Regions from separate parts of the Homo sapiens genome. Here all the other regions are linked to region 1. The links are contacts of gene promoters, found by promoter capture Hi-C in blood cells and fetal thymus (Javierre and others, 2016). All regions are on one chromosome and are shown on one strand. Each heading gives the region's core, a stretch centred on a gene start or on the middle of the fragment in contact. The rest is flanking DNA. Distances are from core to core; before and after follow the strand shown. Region 1 holds the start of DOC2A (double C2 domain alpha). Region 2 overlaps ASPHD1 (aspartate beta-hydroxylase domain containing 1). Region 3 has its middle 15 kb from the start of KCTD13.

The links. Contacts are between HindIII fragments. The CHiCAGO score rates a contact against its expected background, and 5 or more counts as called.
Region 2: a fragment that was not itself captured here is called in contact with the fragment with the promoter of DOC2A in region 1 in 6 of 17 cell types (megakaryocytes, endothelial precursors, erythroblasts and 3 more); the score reaches 8.0 in megakaryocytes.
Region 3: a fragment that was not itself captured here is called in contact with the fragment with the promoter of DOC2A in region 1 in 1 of 17 cell types (M1 macrophages); the score reaches 5.5 in M1 macrophages.

What each region holds. Positions count from the first base shown.
Region 1 is chr16:30,009,749-30,012,303 of GRCh38, forward strand. It overlaps DOC2A (double C2 domain alpha), which reads right to left and starts at 1,279. Exons shown (of 11, transcript NM_003586.3): 1 at 1,155-1,279; 2 at 213-487. The coding sequence starts at 474. RefSeq lists a silencer at 1,186-1,245. The HindIII fragment of the contact is 12,263 bases long and covers 1-2,555 here.
Region 2 is chr16:29,901,001-29,903,555 of GRCh38, forward strand. ASPHD1 (aspartate beta-hydroxylase domain containing 1) reads left to right here. Exons shown (of 3, transcript NM_181718.4): 1 at 1-920. Among named protein-coding and RNA genes, the nearest start is that of ASPHD1, 1.8 kb to the left of the region's middle. RefSeq lists an enhancer at 509-1,213. The HindIII fragment of the contact is 353 bases long and covers 1,099-1,451 here.
Region 3 is chr16:29,939,822-29,942,376 of GRCh38, forward strand. No RefSeq gene overlaps it. Among named protein-coding and RNA genes, the nearest start is that of KCTD13, 15 kb to the left of the region's middle. The HindIII fragment of the contact is 420 bases long and covers 1,072-1,491 here.

The DNA.
Region 1 (2,555 bases), core at 29-2,528:
GGAGTGTCTCAGCAGAAATACTGAATATTGAGCCTTGCTGAAGCTGTAATCTCCACGCTGACTGCAGCTGTGGTGGCCGTCCCTGCCACCCCCCCACTGCCCTCCTCCCCTACCTACATGCACAGCCAGCAGGGCCCATCCCCCTCTCCCCCCACCACGGCAAGCCTGGAGACCCCCACCAGCACATGGGGCCTCCAAGCCCCCAGACTCACTGGCATCATCCGAGTCATAGCTGTCCACCTCCGCACCATCCTCAGGCGTGGTGGCCCCAAGGAGGGCTGCAGGGGGGGCCAGAGCCAGGGGGACCAGATGGGCGGGGGCCTCCCCGCCGCCCCCGCCGCCCCCTTCAGGTCCTGGTCCCCGGGGGAAGTAGTCAGAGATCTGGCGGATGGGCCGGATGGGCCCGGGGCACACGTTGATGGCCATGTGCTCCTGGATGTTGATGGTCATGCGATCGCCCCTGCGGCCCCTCATGCAGCACCCCTGGCTAGGAGAGGGCGTGTGAGCCAGTGAGCCCATCATACCTAGCCATCCTGGCTGAGGGCCAGGCGACGGCCTCCTCGGTCTGTGGGGCCCTCACTGGCCTCCCTTCCTAGGTGTCGAGGGAGAGGGTGGTGTGTGCCAGCCGGTGGCAGGTGGGAGGCCTGGGCCCTGCAGACCCCAAGCTGACTCCACAGGGGCTGGGCTGCCAACCCACTCCTTGCAGAAGTCGAGGTTGCACCACCCCGTCCTCACCCACCCACTTCTAGGTTGTCCCTGTATCATCTTGCCAGCTCCTTCCTCTCCTCCGGGGCTCCCCTCTGCTCCTGAGCCTGCCTGTCCCCCAAGGGGCCCTGCAGGGCCCCGCCTCTGTTTCTCGGAGGCTCTGTCCTCCTCTGCACCAGGCGCTGGTCTAGTCAGGGTGTCACCCACCCCTCTAGGCTCCAACTGCCCACTGTCCCCTCATTCAGCCCCAGGACCTGTCTGCCTGCCTGGTTCCCCCGCTCGCTCACCACAGCCCACGGTGGAGACCCCAGCCTCAGATGCCACCTCTGGCTCCTCAGGGGAGCCAGAAATTGCAGCCGCAGGAGAGCCGAACACCCCCGTAGCGCACACAGGCTGGCACGCTTCCCCGCACCCTCACGCCCCCGGCCTGCCCAGCCCCCTGCACCTGCCTCTGCCTCCAACAGGTGCCCAGGCACTGGGGGGACGGCGGGCGCAGGCTGGGCGGCGGCGGCCGGCGAGGAGAGCGCGGAGTCGAGCTGTGCGAGCCGAGAGGGAGGGAGCGCCGAGAAAGTGCGGGGAGGAGGGGGTGAGCGAGGTGGAGGCGAGGATGCAGCCGGCGCGGCGGCGGGGGACGGGGAGGGGCGCTGGGGCTGGGGAGGGGGCGGGATCTCGGACTCCCACCCGGGGCCCGCTCGGGAGCGCACGCGAGCGCGCACACACACGTGTGCTCGCGCGCGCACACTCACGCAGGGGCACGCGGACCGGCACACACTCGTGTGCACACATCCAACCGGGCACCCCCGCGCGCACACGCCCGTGCCCACGTGTGCACGCTCACACCCTTGCACACACCCAGGCGCGCGCTGGCACACTTACCCGGAGAACTTCGCACACACACGCACTCGCAAACACGCGGGCTCCCTGCGCCACCAGGAAGCAGCCGCCAGAATCGCCGGGTGTTCCCCAACTACTCCTGGGAGACCTGGCCCCCCGCCCCCGCCCGCGCGCGCGGCCACGGCGCCTCCCTCCCTCCCGGGTCCCCAAGGCCGGACCACCGGCCTCGTTGTCATGGCGACGCCGGCTCATCTCCCCCCACCCCCGCGCGTCTTCACGCCCCTCCCCCGCAGGGAGCTGGGGCCTCCCTCCTCCCTTCCCCACGTCCGTAGGGACCCACAGGTTGACAGGAGCAGGGGGTCGCCTGCTGTCACCGGCCGGGGATCTCGGGGTCTCCCGAGCCAGGCTGGGGAGCCTCACGATCTGAGGGAGGAGGCAGAGGTCTGATGCTGCGGCTTCCCCCACGCCCCCTCCCTTTGGCCGTTCAGGCCTCTCTCCTTGTGGCCCAACCCAACTCCCAGGGGCCCATGTCCCCTTACCAGGGATGGTATCTCCTTTGGGAACCACCCTCCCCCCTGCCATCCCCAGTTCTGCCCCGCAGGTGGGAAGGGGCGTCGGGGCTTGGCTCTGAAGGTCTCAGAGCCCTGCGGTAGTTCCCCATGGGCTGCCATTTCTCACCCAAACCTTGCCACCCCCAAGCCGCCCCCCTGCCCGGCCCTGCGCCTGCCACGGAGTGTCAGTCCACCCCTGGCCTTCGGTCTTCACTCACCTGTGCCCCAAACTTACCATCCCGAAGACACGAAGGGGCTTATCACCCTCGCTGCCCACCACTGACTCACCCAACCGTTTCCTGCAGTTCCTGGGACACACCTAGACGGCTCAGGCCTAGGGATCTTGGCTCACATGCGCTCCTCTACCTGGGAACCGCGCTTCCTTAGGAAGTCACCGTGGGTCCCCTCTTCCTAGGAGCCTTCCTGGGGCATCCCGCACTGCCCCTCAGCTCCAGCGCCGTCAGG
Region 2 (2,555 bases), core at 25-2,524, 110 kb before region 1:
GGAGAGAGGACCGCGGAAGGAGAGAGAGACAGCCCAGAGTGGAATGTGGAAGGGAAACAGTCCAGCGGGGAGCCAGGGGGCAGCCATGGAAGGGACAGGTGGGGAGCTGGGGGGACAGGGGAACTGGGGTCCGGAGGACGCCCCAGGCCTCTTGGCCAGGGCCTCCCTGATCATGCTCCCGTGGCCACTACCCCTGGCCTCCTCGGCCCTCACCTTGCTCTTCGGGGCCCTCACTTCCCTGTTCCTCTGGTACTGCTACCGCCTGGGCTCCCAAGACATGCAGGCCCTAGGGGCTGGGAGCCGAGCTGGGGGTGTTCGTGGTGGGCCTGTGGGATGCTCGGAGGCCGGCGGGCCAAGCCCAGGGGGTCCTGGGGATCCCGGGGAAGGACCTAGGACGGAAGGCCTAGTGAGCCGGCGGCTTCGGGCCTACGCAAGGCGCTACTCCTGGGCTGGGATGGGTAGAGTGAGGCGGGCAGCTCAGGGTGGCCCAGGCCCTGGGAGAGGGCCAGGGGTCCTAGGTATTCAGCGCCCAGGCCTGCTTTTCCTACCAGACCTGCCTTCAGCCCCCTTTGTGCCGCGGGACGCCCAGCGGCACGACGTGGAGCTCCTGGAGAGCAGCTTCCCTGCCATTTTGCGGGACTTCGGGGCTGTGAGCTGGGACTTCTCAGGGACTACCCCTCCGCCTCGGGGCTGGTCCCCACCTCTGGCCCCCGGGTGCTACCAGCTCCTGCTGTACCAAGCAGGCCGGTGCCAACCCAGCAACTGCCGCCGGTGCCCGGGGGCCTATCGGGCACTGAGGGGGCTTCGAAGCTTTATGAGTGCCAACACCTTCGGCAATGCCGGCTTTTCCGTTCTCCTGCCTGGGGCCCGGCTCGAGGGCCGCTGTGGGCCCACCAATGCCCGGGTCAGATGCCATCTGGGTAAGTAGCTGCCGCCTACTGACAACCTCCTTGCCTCGATGATTTCCCCCCCAGACCCTTCTCTCCGCCAGAGCCGTCTGCTGTCTGGTTCTCATTGTGCCTCTCTTCTTCCATGGCTCCCTGTTGCCACCCACAGCAGCATTTCCTCAGCCTCGGTTATCTGCACACCACCTTCATAAGCTTTGCCGTGGTCATTCCCATCTGTACTGCGTTTCTTCACCTTGGCTCTCCCCCCGACCTTTTGTTCTACGTATTTAAAAGAAATATTTATAGCACTATCAGTATTACTTGCCCTAAATAGTACTCATAAAAAGCCTGGACAACACAGTGAGACCTTGTCTCTACAAATAATAAAACAATTAGCCGGGCGCGGTGGCCCATGCCTATGGTCCCAGCTACTGGAGAGGGTGAGGTGGGAGGTTCACTGGAGCTCAGCAGTTTGAGGCTGCAGTGAGCTGAGATTGTGCTACTGCACTCCAGCCTGGGTGACAAGAAAGTACTCATAAACACAAGCTGAAATTTAAAAAAGAAAGCTTTCAACAGTCTAGAACATTCTAGTTAAGTGCTCTAGTCTCTCTGATCCTGAAGCCTACACTTTTTTCTTTTTTGAGGAGTCTCGCTCTGTCGCCCAGGCGAGAGTGCAGTGGCACGATCTTGGCTCACTGCAAGCTCCACCTCCCGGGTTCATACCATTCTCCTGCCTCAGCCTCCCGAGTATCTGGGACTACAGGCACCTGCCACTACACCTGGCTAATTTTTTTTTATTTTGTATTTTTAGTGAAGACAGGGTTTCACCATGTTAGCCAGGATGGTCTCCATCTCCTGACCTCGTGATCAATCCGCCTCGGCCTCCCAAAGTGCTGGGATTACAGGCATGAGCCACCGTGCCTAGCCCTACACCTTCTTTTTTAAAAGGGTTGGTGGGGTGTCAAAGTTACAGTAGCACCAAACTGAGATTTTTTCTTTTTCTTTTTTTTTTTTTTTTGAGACAGGGTCTCACTCTGTCACCCAGGCTGGAGTGCAGTGGCACAAACATGGCTCACTACAGCCTTAACCTCCTGAGATCAAAGGATCCTCTCACCTCAGCCTCCTGAGTAGCTGGGACCACAGGTGCCCACCACCATGCTTGGCTGATTTTTTAAAAATTTACGTAGGCCAGGCGCGGTGGCTCACGCCTGTAATCCCAGCACTTTGGGAGGCTGAGGCAGGCGGATCACCTGAGGCTGGGAGTTCGAGACCAGCTGACCAACATGGAGAAATCCTGTCTCTACTAAAATTACAGAAAATTAGCTGGGTGTGGTGTCGCATGCCTGTAATCCCAGCTACTCGGGAGGCCGAGGCAGGAGAATCACTTGAACTCGGGAGGCGGAGGTTGCAGTGAGCCGAGATCACAACATTGCACTCCAGCCTGGGCAACAAGAGCGAAACTTCATCTCAAAAACAAGAAAAAAAAATTGTGTAAAGACAGGCTGGACCTGAACTCCTGAACTCAAGTGATCCTCCTGCCTTGGCCTCCCAAAGTGCTGAGATTACAGGCGTGAGCCACCGCACCTGGCACTTTTTGATGTCTTAAAGACTGGAAGAAAATGGAAAAGGAAATAATTTTCTGTTATTCCATGCCATGACCTTGTTTTG
Region 3 (2,555 bases), core at 32-2,531, 70 kb before region 1:
AGACAGGATCTTGCTCTGTCACCCAGGCTGGAGTGCAGTGGCACAATCTCGGCTCACTGCAACCTCTGCCTCCTGGGTTCAAGCGAATCTCGTGCCTCAGCCTCCCAAGTAGCTGGGATTACAGGTGCCTGCCACCACACCTGGCTAATTTTTGTATTTTTAGTAGAGACAGGGATTCACCATATTGGCCAGGCTGGTCTTGAACTCCTGGCCTCACGTGATCCACCCACCTCGGCCTCCCATAGTGCTGGGATTATAGGTGTGAGTCACTGCACCCGGCCTGGATTTTTTTTTTTCAGTGAAAGATACTGATTTTTTTTAAGTTGACTCAAAGCAAGTTTTAAACACTCTGTGTCCACTTCATGTTGCTATCACAGAATATCACAGTCTGCGTAGTTTAGGAACAATAGACATTTATTTGGCTTATGGTTCTAGAGGCTGTGAAGTCCAAGATACAGGAGCTGCCTCTGGTGAGACATCATCACGTGGCAAGAGAGCATGAGAGAGAGAAAGAGGGGGCTGAATTTGCTTTTATAACAAACCCATTCCTGAAATAATGGCATTAATCCATTGACCTAATTGCCTCTTAAGGATCTCACCTCTCAACAGTATTACATCAGGGATTAACTTTCCAACACCTGAGATTTGAGGGACTCATTCAAACCATAGTACTCTGAAATTGGATATATAGGTCTATGGGTGAGATTCCCACTGAGGGTTGCCAGTTTGCAACCTTTCAGTTGAATGGTCTCCCTCCTGGATGTCAAGGTTAATACTGCTATGAACAGCTATTATGCACCTAAGTTGAACCAGGGAGAGAACACATCCTTCCGCATGTACTATTTTATTTAATGTTATTTTCTACTAAGTCATTCAGAACTCTCTGGACTCTCTTCATGCTGTGTAATTTGCAAGGTTGCCTGCTGCATGTTTGGTTATAAATGAGGTCAAATCCCAATTTTGCAGGAGGACGTGGATGTATGCCCATTCCCTTCACACTGTGAGCCAGTAGCCATGGGAACTATAATCAAGTACACAATAACTCCCCCATGAACAAATCCTCAGGGAACAAGCTTCAATTGAATGAAACTGGCTTGACCACAGAGGAATCTGGGGGACTTTCTGAGCTTCGCGGACTTGTGCCGCCTCCTGACTTTAAGCTGGCTCTGGAGGAGGAGGAAGTGGAGGTATCTCAGGTATGGACCTCTTTCTGGAAGCTGGGACTTGGACCAGGCAAAGAAAGGAGGCGGTGGGGAAAATTCCCCCAGAGAAGGCAGGAGTGGGCCCTGCATACCAGGTCCCCAGGTCTCTGAGAGCTTTACTAGTTCTGGGAGTGTGTGGATCAAGCCTAAAGTCTAGAAGGAATTCTAGCATCACCCAGGGCGTTGGCTGGAATATCTTTAAGGACCCTTCCAGCCCTGGAATCATAGCAGCAAAGGACCCAATTGTATGACAGCTGCTTTGGCCAGTGAAGATGGAAAGACCAGGAAAAGCTTTAGGCTAAGCAATGGAGTTCACACCCCGCTAATTCACCTCCCTTGCGGCATCCCTGACATTTCCCACACAATATGTCCTTCATTCTGTTCTCCAAAAAGCCATTGCCTTCCTCTAACTGACTGAGATGAGCCCTGGAAACCCTGATGCCCACCAGACCCCTGCCTTTCCTCTTCTCTGCTGTTGGCCAAGGTTTCTGCCTCAGTTGCCCTGTCTGACAATACAGTTTCCCTAGGACTGGAGCTAGCCCTGGCATCCCAGAATCCCCAACAGGTGCTAGCCCCTGGAGTCAGGACTGTCTTCCTGTGTCCCTGTGCTTGCTGCAGAATAAACTGATTACTTTTAACTACCATTCTGAATATAGTCACTACCAGGAACCGCTGACTACCTGTGACATACCATCTAGCATGGTACCACAGCACCTGGCCCAGCATCTTGGGAGGCCAAGGTGGGAGGACTGCTTGAGGGCAGGAGTTTGAGATCAACCTGGGCAACTACATAGTGAGACCCCACCTCTACAAAAAATTTCAAAATTAGCCGAGTGTGATTGCACATGCCTGTAGTCCCAGCTACTTGGGAGGCTGAGGCAGGAGGATGGATTGAGCACAGGAAGTGGAGGCTGCAGTGAGCTATGATTGCACCACTGCACTCCAGCCTGGGAGACAAAGGGAGATTCCGTACATAAATAAACAAATAAATAAAAAACAAAGGAGATGGATTTTTTTCTACAAGAGAGTTACATGCAGGGTGCTAGGTACTATAGGTGGAGACTTGCCGAGGTTCAGTGGGAATGGGAGCTCAATCCTGAGAGTGGGGGAAGGCATTACAGAGGCTGTGACCTTTGAGACTGGTCTTGAAGAAAGAGAAAATGTGTACAAGGCAGAAAGAAGGGAGAAAGTTACCCGAAGAGAGAACTGCACCAGCCAAAAATATGGAGGTATGGAGTAGGTAGAATTGTGAGACATTTATGTGACTGGAGTGAAAAATGAGAGATGATGCTGGAAAGGAGAGTTAAGGCCAGGTTTTGAAGGATCTCTTAAAAAAATAATAGGCTGGCGAGA